Linked DNA regions of Homo sapiens: regions 2 and 3 are each linked to region 1. Evidence: promoter capture Hi-C in 16 types of primary human blood cells and fetal thymus (Javierre and others, 2016). All regions are on one chromosome and are shown on one strand. The core of a region is centred on a gene start or on the middle of the fragment in contact, and the rest is flanking DNA. Distances in the headings are between cores, read along the strand shown.

Region 1 (4,653 bases), core at 1,294-3,793:
ACAAAAAATTAGCCTGGTGTGGTGGCGGCCGTCTGTAGTCCCAGCTACTCGGGAGGCTGAGGCAGAAGAATGGTGCGAACCCCGGAGGCGCAGCTTGCAGTGAGCTGAGATCGCACCACTGCACTCCAGCCTGGGCAACAAAGCAAGACTCTGTCTCAAAAAAAATTTTTCTTTTGTAGAGGCAGGGGTCTCGCTCTGTTGCCCATGCTGGTCTCAAATTCCTAGCCTCAAGAGATCCTCCCCTCTTGGTCTCCCAAAATGTTGGGATTACAGTTGTGAGCAACCATGACCAGCCAACACTTTTATTTCTATCCTCCAGAACTCTAATTTTTTTTTTGTTTTTTGTTTTTCGTTGTTGTTGTTTGTTTTTCTAAGGACAGGGTCTCATCTTGTCATCCGGGCTAGGGTGCAGTGGCACAATCATAGCTTACTGTAGCCTCAAACTCCCAGGCTCAAGTGATCCTCCTGCCTCAGTCTCTCTCAAGTAGCTAGGACTACAGGAGCGTGCCATCATGCTCAACTAATTTTTTTTTTCTTGTAGAAGCGGGATCTTGCCATGTTGCCCAGGCTAGTCTCCCAATTGCTGGCCTTAAGCCATCCTCCCAAGCTTTAAGTCTTGGTCTCCCAAAGCGCTGGGATCATAGGCCTGAGACACTGCCCAGCCTGAGGCTCAATTTCTAAATATTTGACCCAGTACTTCCTTAGGGCACAGCCTGATTGAAAAATTGATGGTAGCTTGTACTTTTACACTCTCTCCAAAAACCAGAGAATTATCTTCCCCCAATTCCATTTCTCCAAATTTTCCAACAACTAATAGTAGGCCTGGCTAATCTGGTTATAGACTAGGTTATGCAAGTGAGGTGAGATCATGGAATGAAGACATATCTGAGACCCCCAATGAGACCAATGTTTCCCTTGACTATCCAATTGTTTGTGCAGATTTATTTGTAATAGTGGAATGGAGCTTCCTGAACTGATGGCCAATCTAATGTTTTCGCCTGGAATCAGAGAAATCTGGATTAGTCAAATAGCCCCGGTTTACCTGCTTACTGTGTGACCTTGCACTGTGTAATCTTTACACATTTTCACCTGAATTACCTCATCTCTAAAGTATGGCTTTATCAAATGAAATGTTTGCAAAAATGTTGTGTAAAGAGAAAAACATTCTCCAAGTTAATTTGTGGTTTTTTTTTTTGGAGACCGAGTGTTGCTCTGTCTTCTCCCGGGTTCAAGCCTTACTCCCGCCTCAGCCTCCTGAGTAGCTGGGATTACATGGGCGCGCCACCACATCCAGCTAATTTTTGTTATTTTTGGTAGAGACGGGGTTTCACCATGTTGGCCGGGATGGTCTCCTGACCTCAACTAATTCACCCGCCTCGGCCTCCCGAAGTGCTGGGATTACAGGCGTGAGCCTGTAAGTTAGTATCTAAATCACACAGGCGTTGAGACTATTTTTTTCTGGCTCAGTGCCACTGCTTTATTAGGCTGACATTTTAATCTATGTATTTTTGCACTTAAACTGGCAAGTTGGGGCGGGGCGCTCAGCATTTGGGTCTTATTCTTAGGCAGTAAGTTCGATGCAGGGCGAAGCCCGGGCCTTGACGTTCTCTTCAGCAAGGATTCCGCCCGTCAAGCGCCAGCAGCCGCTCCTAAGGAACTCTGATCCGCACACTGGCTCTGTAAGTCAGCCTCTGGCTCCTGCTTTCTATTTCATCTCTTCCGGTAAAAAGATTTCTGTCTTTTGGCCGCAGTGGCGCGTGCCCACGCTAGGTCGCTGAGGAAGACCCTTCGGGCCTTCTGAGCAGCGTAGCTGTTACTGTGGCACGTCCTAATGGTTCGGTCCAACTTCAGGAGACCGCCTGCCCTTAGGATGACCAACAGCTAGTTCAACTCAGGATAGCCAAGCTGCTCTCGGCAATGCAACCAATAGGGGAAGTCTTTCCAGAGCTCTTTCTCAGGAGCGTTGATTGGCTTATTCTCACGCCAATCAAGGTTTTCTGCACAACTGGCTTTTCTGTCACCAGATGGGGTGCAAACCGCTCACTCCCTCGGTAGAGAGGGCATAAAGCAGAGACGACCGGGAAATACCACAGAGGAGCAAATCACCTCCGGAAGTGGCGTTTTGGGTCGCTTTCTACCATGCAGTCCAATGAACTCTTTCTTTTGGCAACAAATTCCGTCTTCGAGCCCGCCCAAGGTGAAGAACATTTTGATTGGTTGTTTAGTCGGGGGACACAGAGACTCACGGGAGCTTCGTCCAAGCCCTTGCAGGTATTGCTCAGTTGGCCTGTCAATCATCTCGCTCGCTAGAAGGGGCGGAAACTGGCAGCCCTTTTGGCACCGCCTCTTCCTGGGCTGCTGTGCGGGGACGCAGCGAGGCCACCCCGGCTGGGAACAGCCGCGTGGGCGGGGCCGCATTGCACTCTCTGGACAGTTCCTGGGCCGCGAGGCGCGGGGAGTGGCCCTAAGCGCGGGGCTGTACGGGGAGGGCCGAGGCGTGGGGCGAACGCCGGGGCGGGGTCGGGGCGGGGCCGGGGGAGGCGGAAGCGGCGCGTGAACCTAAGTCGGAGTCGCGTTGAAGCCAGCGTCCGGCCGGCAGAGCGGCGTCGGCGGGGTTGGCCGGGGCGGTGTGGCGCTAGAGCCTGGGCGGGCCGGGGGCAAGGAGTCAAGGCTTGGGGGCGGGTGACGGGCGGGCGGAGGGCTTGCCCCCGTGTGGTCCTCGGAGCGGCCCGAGGTCCAGCCTCCCAGCGGTCCCGGAGGAGGATGCGACCGGGGGGCCCCGGGCGGGGCGGTCGGCGGCGGCTGCAGCGCTAGCGGCGCGGGGGCTGGGCGGCGGCGCCGGCATGAGGCGCAGGGCCGGTGTCCGCGGGAGGGTGGCGCTGCCGGCGGCCCGGCCGCTCCCGCTGCAATTGCTCGCTGGGCTCGTCGTGCCCTGCCAGTGGGGCCCCCGCAGCTCTCGTCCCGGCCGCCGCTGGTGACCACTCGCCGCCCCTCCGGAGGCTTCACCCGCGCCCTCCCCCAGGACGCGCCAGCGGAGCTCCGGCTCCTTCGCCCTGGACGCGGAGGCCGCGGTGTGCGGGGCGACGGCGAGGCCGGAAGATGGCCTGGGTGCTCAAGATGGACGAGGTGATCGAGTCCGGGCTGGTGCACGACTTCGACGCCAGCCTCTCGGGCATCGGGCAGGAACTGGGCGCCGGCGCTTACAGCATGAGGTACTGGGCTCCCTGGGCGGGGAGAAGCCTCTGTCTCCTTGGGGAAGGCCTGCGCAGCCCTGAGTCTCTGCCAGATGCGGCTGCTCCCAGAGGTGCGCGGGCCTCCTGGGCTGCGGGGTCGGAGTCCTGCCGCGTGGCGGTCGGGGGCCATGGAACCCCAAAGGCCTCTGCTCGCCCTGGTGACGGGCGGGTGGGGGAGGATGGCCCCGCAAGCGTCGGCCTCGGACCGCTCCTGAGTGCTTCATATTTGCTGTAAAACACGCCCAGCTATTAGGATGGCTTGGGTTGGTGGGGGAAGGGGCTTCTTTTCCTTATAAGTGATTTACAAGTCCCATTGGAGCTAGAATACACTGTACGAAAAGGCAGCACTTATATTGGGAGAATACTGTCTAGCGTTTTGGGATCAGTTCCTACTTTGTTGTCCTACATTATGATCTTTTCTGGCTGCAGATTTTAATCACTTGATGTTAGTAAATTATAATTGAAAGAGCAGCGGTGGGAGTAGCACTGTGACTTCGTTTTGTTCTTTTGATTGTCTCAAAGTGAAGTTTCTCATTTTGGAGACTACCCTCTCAGGCTGTTTCCTCTTGAGGGTTTTAAGATGCAGTGATTGCACCACAAATAATTGTTTAGTCTCTGCTGTCTGTACCAGCAGTCATTCATTTTAATATGGAGAGATTGAAACAGATCTGAGCTTAGTCTCCGCCCTTTATCCTTTTTAACTGTTAGGAATTTGGAAACTCTGTATTTTTTTAGTGGCTTTATTGAAATATAGTTTACCATAGCGTTGACTTGACTAATAAAGTCTAAAAATCAGTGGTTTGGCAGCTTTTCAATAATGTGAATTAAGTGTAGCTTTCTGTTCTTTAGAAAATGTCTGATGTTTTGGAAGTGCTCTACAGTTTCCCAGTAGCATTCATACATCTTACTGCAGCTCTAGAGGAGGACTTCTGGGTTAAAGCTGGCCTGGAATCTTGGTGGCTGCTCCTTGAAGTAATTGGGTCTTTAAATCTTAAGGAGAAATTCTGAGCCATAAAGAACTCTCAGAAAGGTTGGAGACATTTCTTGGAGTGTGGAAGTGAGTAGTGGAAGGCATATTAAACCTGGAGTTCCCCAGCGTCTGGCTCTGATTTGGTCTCTGTTGGGCTTCCTGAACTTGGCACCTCTTCTCTCTGCAGTTGTATAACTTAAGGCCTGTAGATGAGTTGGCTTATTTTCTAAAACAGCTGTTTCAGTTGTTGAGGAAATTGAGCTACTGAAAGTCATGGAGTCACCCCAGAGGGGAGTATTAGAGGCAGTGCTTCTCTAGTGAAAACGCACTCCTCTAGTGCCATTCTGCTCCTTAGCTCTCTACTGGAAACACGAGGCTTATAGTCAAGGCAAAGGAGGCACGTGAAGCAAGTTCAATATGTGTCTCTCCTCAGTTGCTTCTCTTTTATGG
Region 2 (4,653 bases), core at 689-3,188, 3.7 Mb before region 1:
CGCCATCCCAAATTCTAGAATAATAGAGTCAACAATCGTTTCACACCAAAGTCATCCATTTTCTGAAGCAAATTTTGAACTAAAATGTTAAAAATGTTTTGTAAGGTAGATTAAACGTCATGTGGGGAAAATAACTTGTTAGTGCAAAAAGGAAAAGAAACTGAAAACAGACATATCTGTAGATAAATTTTCCTTTCAAGATTCTACAGTATAAATATCCATCTAAAAGATGAATTGGCTTCTTAAGCCAATTCATTGTCACTTGCTTCTGAAGTGTTTCCCAGGCACCTTAGTTATCAGCCACCCTGCCCCTAGGGTATCGAGGACAAATACGTTTCAGGTAGCTTGACAACAGGAAAGAATTTTAAGGACAAGAAACTACCTGCAATACCAGTTGGGAGTGTCCTGAAAAGTGATGTACTGAAATACTGACCCTTCCAGCTGGTTAACTTTCATAATCATGCATTTACTTTTCAATGGCAACTGAATATATGACTGCCTGATGATTCAGGGGAAAAAATGCAGTATTGTGTGTGGAATTGGAAGAGATTCAAAGTGAGTGCCATGGCAGTGACTAACTTCTTTCAAAAGCTTAAGGAAGAAACAATGCATAGGCCTTTGAGTTAGTTGGTGTAGTAAGCATTGTGTTTTCACCATCAGTATCCATTTCTATATTTTGGTGACAGTACTCCATTTTGTTCTTCCGGGAACCACTCCTCTCCTATAGTCCATGATCTTTGGGTGGACCAGAGGTAAAGCATATGACTCAAATTTGGCTAATCATAGCACAAGAGTTTTCCTTGCTACAGTAATTTGTTAAAGGATGGGAAGGTAACTCTCTATCCTTTAACAAATTACTGTAGCAAGGTAATTGGTTCAGTGAATCTAGGAGCTACTGGAAGGGATCTCTTGCTGGACTTGGACTGGAGTGAATATAGAACTAAAGTTTTTGAGAACTGTCTTGTTGCCACATGATGAAGTCTGAGTATAAGCCAATATGGAGAAAAGCTGATTGGGGTTTTTTTTGTTTTGTTTTGTTTTTAAAAGAAACAGGATCTTGCTGTGTTGCCCAGGCTGGAGTGCAGTGGCTATTCACAGGCACAATTGTGGTGCCATATAAGCCTTGGACTCCTGGGCTCAAGCTTCCTGAGGTAGCTGACATTACTACTACAGGCACAAACCTGGGCCTTTTTTTTTTTTTTTTTTTACCCCCCAGAAGGCTCTCTCTTTATTTGTCTGACCTGAAATGGGCATAAGTTGCAACAGATTGAAAATTCTAACTCTACCTTCATTTTCAGAAGTGTCTAAATTAAACATTTATAAGAAAATTGATGTTTTATAAAAACAAAAGACATGAAAAGCTCTGTATTCAAATATTTTTATTCTGTGAACATTGAAAATGCCTTCTAGGAATATGGCATTGCGGGGTGTATACAAAAAAATAGATCTTTTCTCAAAAAGCATGTAATCTGCTTGGGAAGACAAGAACATTATTAAAAAAAACCCTTTAGAACACAAGTGAGTTGTGGACAGTAATACATATAAATAATCTGAATGGCAGTATATAATAACTGATAACTATCTACAACCAAAACCAGCCTAGAACAAAAGCATGAGTAAGAGGCTTTAGGGTACACTTCTGAGCATTTTCTTTTAATTCTCAAGACATTTGTCCTTGTTTTCCTAATCTTTAGGTGGATTCATACATTTGTATTTCCTACCTGGTATTTCCTCTGAATTACTGACTTGTAATTCAAACACCACATCTGCTCCCAACCACTTCCTACCACTTCCACTGCTACCTGAATTATTGTTATAGCCTAACTGGTCTTCCTGCTCTCACCTTTGCTCCCCTAAAGTCTATTCACAATAACCAGTTTAAACTATTATTTTATTAGGAAAAATTTCAAACACACAGCAAAGTTGAAAGAATTTTACAGCAATCACTTCTGCATCCACCACTTATATTCTACCATTAACAGAATACTCCTTTAAATAATGGCAGATGTGTAGTTCCTCTGCTCAAAACCCTCCCACGGCTTAGCTTACTCAAAGAGGAAAAACCAGGCTGGGCGTGATAGCTCACGTCTGTAATCCCAGCATTTTGGAAGACTTTAGGAGGCTGAGGTGGGAGGATCACTTGCGGGCGGGAGTTTAAGACCAGCCTGGGCAACATAATGAAATACCATCTCTTAAAAAAAAAAACTTAGCTGGGCGTGGTGCTGGATGCCTGTAGTCCCAGTTACTAAGGAAGCTAAGGCAGGAAGATCACTTGAGCCCAGAAGTTCAGGACTGCAGTGAGCTATGAGCACGCCATTGCACTCCAGCCTGAGTGACAAAGTGAGACCCTGTCTTAAGGGGGAAAAAAAAAAGGAGAAAAGCCAATTTGTTACCATGGTCACCAGTATGATCTGGCCTCTGTTACCATTCTTCCCACTTGTCCTTTACTCTTCAGCCTTGTTACTGCTCCTTAAACATGGCAGGCACATTTTTGTTTTAGGGCCTTTGCACTTGCTGTTCCTTTGCTTCAAATGCTCTTCTCCCAGGTATTTACATGGCTTGCTTCTCTTTCTTTCGATCACCTCATTAGTTCTGACTCTTCCAAGTATTAAGTTGAACCATATGACCCTAATGTCACACAACTGGATTGAACCATTCAAACCTAAGGTGTAATGTCATTCTCAGGTCAAAAATTATTTTTAAAAATCAGTAATTTCATAGGATTCAAGCTTATAAAATAGCAACTCCACCCTACCCTTTCATTCTCACCCTGTTCCAATATTCTTACAGCACTATTATCTTATTTATGATTTGTATATTGTATGTAAGATCCTCACAGATAGGGAATTTGTCTGTTGTCCACTGCCGTGTGCTCTGTGTGCAGAGTAGGATTTGGTCTATAGCAGGCCTTCAGGATGCATTTATTTAAAGAATGAGTAGCTGAGACTACAGGTGCGCACCACCACACTTGGCTAATGTTTTCATTTTTTTATATTTTGTAGAGATGGGGTCCCACTATATTGCTTAGGCTGGTCTCAAACTCCTGGGCGCAAGCAATCCTCTCACCTTGGCCTCCCAAAGTGCTGGGCTTACAGTTGTGAGCTACCACACCTGGCCAAAAATGAATTCTTTTTAAAAAATTTTTCTTTTTTGAAGCAAAGTCTTACTCTGTGGCCCAGGCTGGAGTGCAGTGCCATGATCTCGACTCACTGCAGCCTACGCCTCCCCGGTTCAAGCGATTCTTGTGCCTCAGCCTCCCGAGTAGCTGGGACCACAGGTGCATGACACTATGCATGAATGAATTCTTAACATTGAAGTCAGAGTGGTCTTTTGAAAATACAAATCTGATCATGTTGCTCTCACTAAAAACTCGATTGGTTTGCAGATTTCGGAACAAAGATTAGAATCTTTACCACAGCCTCTAAGACCCTGAATGGTGGACCCTTAACTCTCCAGACTCATCTCACATTCTCTCATTTCAGTCCCTGGGACTCTGTTGCTTCTATCATGAGGTCTATTTGTGCTTTCTTGCTTTCCCCCACCTCTGCATGTAGTTTATACTCTGAGGCACTTTTAAATCTCGGCTTGAAACATCTATTCCCAGGAGAAGGCATTTCTGATACCTCAGGTTAGGTCAAGTCCCAATGCTTTTATGCCCTCATGGCAGCACATACCTACCCTTTGTAATACCTGTTAGATTTTAAAGGTACTTTTGTGAGATTGTCTAACTTACCAGTTTCATAAGAAAAAGAAACATTTTTGTTTTTGCTTCCCGTCGGATGTCTAGCATTTGCAAATTATCTAGCACATAGTGAGAGCTTAACATTAAAAAAATATATATCAACAGAAACTCTGGAATTCTAGCTCCTTAAGAGCAGAGATTGTTTTGTCCCTGTGTCAAGTACCTAATTGGGTGCTTGATTTATCTGCTGATACACAGCAGATAAATAATAGTTTGTTAAATAAGCTATAATATGAAGGATGTTTTTTACTCATTTATAGTAAGTACATAATGCAGAAAAACCGTCACTTGATAATCAGTGATTAGGTGCTCATAACATAATTGATACCTACACAAAGTCCCAAATTTTCCCCTTTCATCAACCTTTCCTCAAGACTAAGATTGAACAAAGTAATTTAGCCTTCATTTTTTCCCTGTTTATTCTCTGGTGGAGTAAAGGGTGAGTGCCCTGGGTAGGAGAATCCATGTAGAACCAGAATTAGCCATAAGTGAGATTTTGCACACTAACCAACAAACCACAGCATTCTTTTTTTTTTTTTTTTTTTTTTTTTTTGAGGTAGGATCTTGCTCTGTCACCCAGGCTGGCTTGCAGTGGTGTAGTCATGGCTCACTGCAGCTTTGACCTCCAGGACTCAAGTGCTCCACCCACCTCAGCCTCTGGAGTAGCTGGGACTACAGGTGTGGACCACCACAACCAGCTATATTTTTTTTTTTTTGTAGAGACAGGATTTCACCATGTTGCCCAGGTTGGTCTAGAACTCTTGCTCAAGGTATCTGCCCACCTTGGCCCCTCAAAGTGCTGGATTACAAGGCGTTAGCCACCATGCCCACCCAGTATTCTTGTTTTGACAGTTAGATGTTTAGAAACTTTTTTAAAAAATCCAGTCAAATGACGAGTCTTGTATTCCTCT
Region 3 (4,653 bases), core at 797-3,296, 3.5 Mb before region 1:
CACTGGCTCTTTTTTAAGCATGAGCATGTCAAGGCTACCAGGTGACTTACTGGAGAATTCAGTCTTGGCTTTTGTGCTTGGCTTGGGTTTCTAGGGTTCCCATGTAACCAGGAAAGCCCACCAGCCCACTAATACTGTCGGATTAAGTACTACTCACACATAGCACCTGGTTGAGTCCCCTCTCATGGATCACATGCACCACAAACACAAATAAAAGCTTCAGCTTCCTTTTATGAAAGGAAAATAACTTGTTAGAATATGAAGCGAATGGTCTGAATGGTAAGTGATAGTGAGGGTTCTCTTATGGCCTATCTATTGTGACCTTTATCTGCTGCTCCTTCACCAACTATGCTTTATTGTTATCCTATCCCTTGAGCACAGGCTGAAAGACTGGCCATTAGTTATCTAACCTTATTCATCAGGCAGCCTACAAAACACCATTCTTAGTTGGAGTTCCAAATAGATCTTTGTTTGTCCCTGATCTTATAGCTGCTATAGAGAAGGTATATCTTTGTCCACCTGCTACCAAATGTTAATCATTATTAAAGCTTGTGGTGGGTACCTGGAGATCTCTCATCTTTTGTGTGTGTTTGAAAATTCCATATTAAAAAGGTTCGAAAAATGAATAAAGTTTACATCCAGTAGGATGGCTACCACCAACAAAACAGAAAATAAGTGTTGGTGAGGATATGGTGAAACTGGAACACTCATGTTCTCTTAGTGGGAACGTAAAACGGTACAGCCACTATAGAAAACAGTATGGCAGTCACTCATATTAAAAATAGAATTACATATAATCCAGCATTTCAACTTCTGGGTGTATACACAAAAAAGTGAAAGCAAGGACTTAAACATGTTCGCGGCAGCATTATTCACAATAGACAAAAGGTGGAAGCAACCCAAATGTTCATTGACAGATGAAATCGTTAATAAAATTTGGTATGTACATACAATGGAATATTATGTTGTAGCATATATCAAAATGTCTTTCCTTTTAAAAGCTGAGGGCACTATCCTAAGTGAAATAAGTCAGTCACAAAAAGACAAATACTGTTTGATTCCACCTATATAAGGTTATGTGCAGTAGTCAAATTCAGAAAGACAGAAAGTAGAATGGTGGTTGCCAGGGGCTGGGGGAGGGGGTAATGGAGATTTTTTGTTTTTAATTCTTTTTTCAAAATTTACTTTTTACTTTTTTCTTTTGTTAAAAAAAATTTTACTCTTAACACCACTCAATGAGAGATTACTGTTTAATAGATACAGAGTTCCAGTTTTGGGGTTTTTTGTTTGCTTGTTTGTTTGTTTTAGATAGGGCCTTGCTTTGTCACCCAGGGAGAGTACAATGGCACGCTCAAAGCTCACTGCAGCCTTGAACTCCTGGGCTCAAGTGACCCTCCCACCTCAGCTTCCTGAGTAGCTGGGACTACAGATGTGTATCACTATACTTGGCTATTTTTATTTTATTTTATTTTATTTCATTTCATTTATTTATTTATTTATTTTGAGATGGAGTCTCGCTCTGTCGCCCAGGCTGGAGTGCAGTGGCATGATCTCGGCTCACTGCAAGCTCCACCTCACGGGTTCATGCCATTCACCTGCCTCAGCCTCCTGAGTAGCTGGGACTACAGGCGCCCGCCACTACTCCCAGCTAATTTTTTTGTATTTTTAGTAGAGACGGGGTTTCACGTGTTAGCCAGGATGGTCTCAATCTCCTGACCTCGTGATCCGCCCGCCTCAGCCTCCCAAAGTGCTGGGATTACAGGCATGAGCCACCGCGCCCAGCTATTTTATTTTTCTGAGATAGAGTCTCACTCTGTTGCCCAGGCTGTAGTGCAGTGGCACGATCTTGGCTCACTGCAACCTCCGCCTCCCAGGTTCAAACGATTCTCCTGCTGCAGCCTCCAGAGTAACCGGGACTACAGGTGCGCGCCACCATGCCCAGGTAATTTTTTGTATTTTTAGTACAGATGGGGTTTCACCATGTTGGGCAGGCTGGTCTTGAACTCCTGAGCTCAGGCAATCTGCCCACCATGGCCTCCCAAAGTGCTGGGATTACAGGCATGAGCCATCGCGCCTGGTCTATTTTTATTTTGTTTTTATAGAGACGGTGTCTCACTATATTGCCCCAGCTGGTCTCAAACTCCTGGGCTGAAGCGATCCTCCTGCTTCGGCCTCTCAAAGTGCTGAGATTACAGTCGTGAGCCACCGCACCTGGTTCAGAGTTCCAGTTTTGCAAGATAAAAATAATTCTGCAGATGGATGGTGGTGATGGTTGTGCAACAATGTGAATGTGCTTCGTACCACTGCACTGTACAGTTAAAAACAGTTAAGACGGTTCATTTTATGTTATGTGTATTTTATCACAATTTTAAATAAAAGAATCAAGTTTAAGTACTCTATAAAATTAAGCATAAACCTATACCATACCTCAATAATTTCACTCCTAGGTATTTACACAAAAAAATCAAAACATATGTCCACAAAAATGTTCATCGTTCAAGAATGTTCATAGCAGCTTTATTCATTATAATCCAAAACTGGGAACAAACCAAATGTCTGTCAACAGGAAATGGGTAAACAAAATAGGCTCTATCCATACAATAGAGTACTAATCTGGAAGAAACGACTGATACACATAACAATATGGATAAATGTTAAAAACATTATTCTGAGGAAAATAAACCAGACACAAAAGGAAATATACTGGTTTTATGAAGATCAACAGCAGAAGAATCAAAACAATGGTGATAGAATCAGAGCAGTGAGGGTTGGGAGTGGAGATGGGAAGGCAGGGAGGCCAAGGGTTGGGGGCATGGGGGGGTGAACTGCTACTGACAGAAGGAACTTTCTGGGTCGATGTATGGTTTTTTTTGTTGTTTTTTGTTTTTTTGAGACGGAGTCTCTCTCTGTTGCCCAGGCTGGAGTGCAGTGGTGCTATCTCGGCTCAATGCAACCTCTGCCTCCCGGGTTCAAGCGATTTTCCTGCCTCAACCTCCTGAGTAGCTGGGACAACAGGCATGTGCCACCATGCCTGGCTAATTTTTTGTATTTTTAGTGGACAGCCAGGATGGTCTCGATCTCCTGACCTCATGATCCACCTGCCTTGGCCTCCCAAAGTGCTAGGATTACGGGCATGAGCCACTGCGCCCGGCTGATGTAAGTATTTATATCTTGACTGAGGTGTTGGTTCCACAGGTATACATATTTGCCAAAACTCATCAAACTGTATACTTAAGGTCTGTGAACTTACTATATGTTCTTTATACCTCAATATAATTAGTATTTAAAAAAAGAGAAAGTCCTCTCCCTGCTCTCCCCTCTTCCCCTGGGGTCAATGAAGCAAGTATGAAAAAACTAATGTGGTTTTGATATTATTCTGTGTTCTGTGATGCATATCATTTATAAAACAACAGAAGTTCATTTCTTGTGAACAGTTTGCTTATAATAAACCAAGGGCAACAGGTCACTGCTGACTGGCCTAGCTCCCTTAGCCAGCATCACAGATGACTAAGAGGGAAGTGAGAGATAGCAAGTGTAAGCTTCGTGCAGCATGACAGTATCAAACAGGAGCAAGAGACAGTTCAGGAAGGTGGGGGCATAGCTCATGAGGAAGGTTGCTTGGTGAGCGGCAGGCCTCTGCATTATCTTTGGTATCAGTGAAGAGCTGGTTTCCTTGGCAACAGGGGCCTACTTAATGAATGGTGCCTGCCAGGCAGCAGGCATGGACATGTCCATAGCAAGTGTACAATAGTGAAAGAAGATCTCTTCACCAAATATTCCCTTTTAGTCTACATACTGAGATCTGTTGATGGTTTAAGAACAATCAGAGAATGCTGAAAGACATAATAAAAAGCTTCAGTGCCATTACCCACTTCTCTTCTCCCCCATTCCTAGTAACAACCACTTGTAACCTTTTATCCTTCTCCTCCTCCCCCTCCTTCTCCACTCCTCCCACTCCTTCTCTCCTCCTCCTCCACCCCCCCCCCCCCGCCCACGCTCCCTCCCTCCCTCTCTTCCTTCCTTCCTTCTTCATTTTTTTAAATTTTTTTTGAGATGGTCTCACTCTGTTGGCTCACTGTAGCTTCCACCTTCTGGGCTCAACTGATTCTCCTGCCTCAGCCTCTGAAGTAGCTGGGAATACAGGCATACACCACCACACCCAGCTAATTTTTCTGTTTTTTTGTAGCGATGAGGTCTCACTACGTTGCTTAGGCTGGTCTCAAACTCCGGGACTCAAATGATCTGCCTGCCTCTGCCTCCCAAAGTGCTGGGATTACAGGCCTGAGCCACCGTGCCCAGCCTCCTTTTCTTTCATTAGTTATTTTGGTTTCATATATATTTCTGTATATTGCTAATTCTTAATTTATCAACTGTAGGCATTGTCTACTTATTGCTTATGATTAATAAGGATTTAACTAATTAATACCACCCCATTTCTCCTTTTCTTCTTTTTACCATGACTTTTGTTGTATCATTGGTTTTCTTTCCATTGGTTACTTTTATACATTTAGATTCTGTTCTTAAACTATTTGTTTTTAATTCTGTCAATTTTCACTAACGTCTCTTGACTTTTTTCCCCTACCCTTGCCTCCATCTCTTTTCCTACTTCTACCTTCTGGTTTCTGTGAGCTTCACTTTGATATTTACATTGTT

The links. The method cuts DNA at HindIII sites, captures the fragments that hold promoters and counts their contacts. A CHiCAGO score of 5 or more calls a contact.
Region 2: a contact is called between a fragment that was not itself captured here and the fragment with the promoter of UBP1 in region 1, in 1 of 17 cell types (M2 macrophages). The highest score is 6.1, in M2 macrophages.
Region 3: a contact is called between a fragment that was not itself captured here and the fragment with the promoter of UBP1 in region 1, in 1 of 17 cell types (naive B cells). The highest score is 6.4, in naive B cells.

The regions. Positions count from the first base shown.
Region 1 is chr3:33,438,295-33,442,947 of GRCh38, reverse strand. UBP1 (upstream binding protein 1) reads left to right here and starts at 2,543. Exons shown (of 16, transcript NM_014517.5): 1 at 2,543-3,212. The coding sequence starts at 3,100. RefSeq lists enhancers at 1,565-1,854, 2,065-2,254, 2,586-3,085 and silencers at 2,405-2,564, 2,625-2,734, 2,785-3,104, 3,335-3,384, 3,304-3,538 and 1 more. The HindIII fragment of the contact is 4,671 bases long and covers 610-4,653 here.
Region 2 is chr3:37,179,444-37,184,096 of GRCh38, reverse strand. All of the region lies in intron 1 of LOC105377642 (a long non-coding RNA gene), which reads right to left. Among named protein-coding and RNA genes, the nearest start is that of LRRFIP2, 7.2 kb to the right of the region's middle. The HindIII fragment of the contact is 1,587 bases long and covers 1,145-2,731 here.
Region 3 is chr3:36,969,030-36,973,682 of GRCh38, reverse strand. No RefSeq gene overlaps it. Among named protein-coding and RNA genes, the nearest start is that of EPM2AIP1, 22 kb to the left of the region's middle. RefSeq lists enhancers at 3,735-3,794, 3,885-3,934. The HindIII fragment of the contact is 2,991 bases long and covers 551-3,541 here.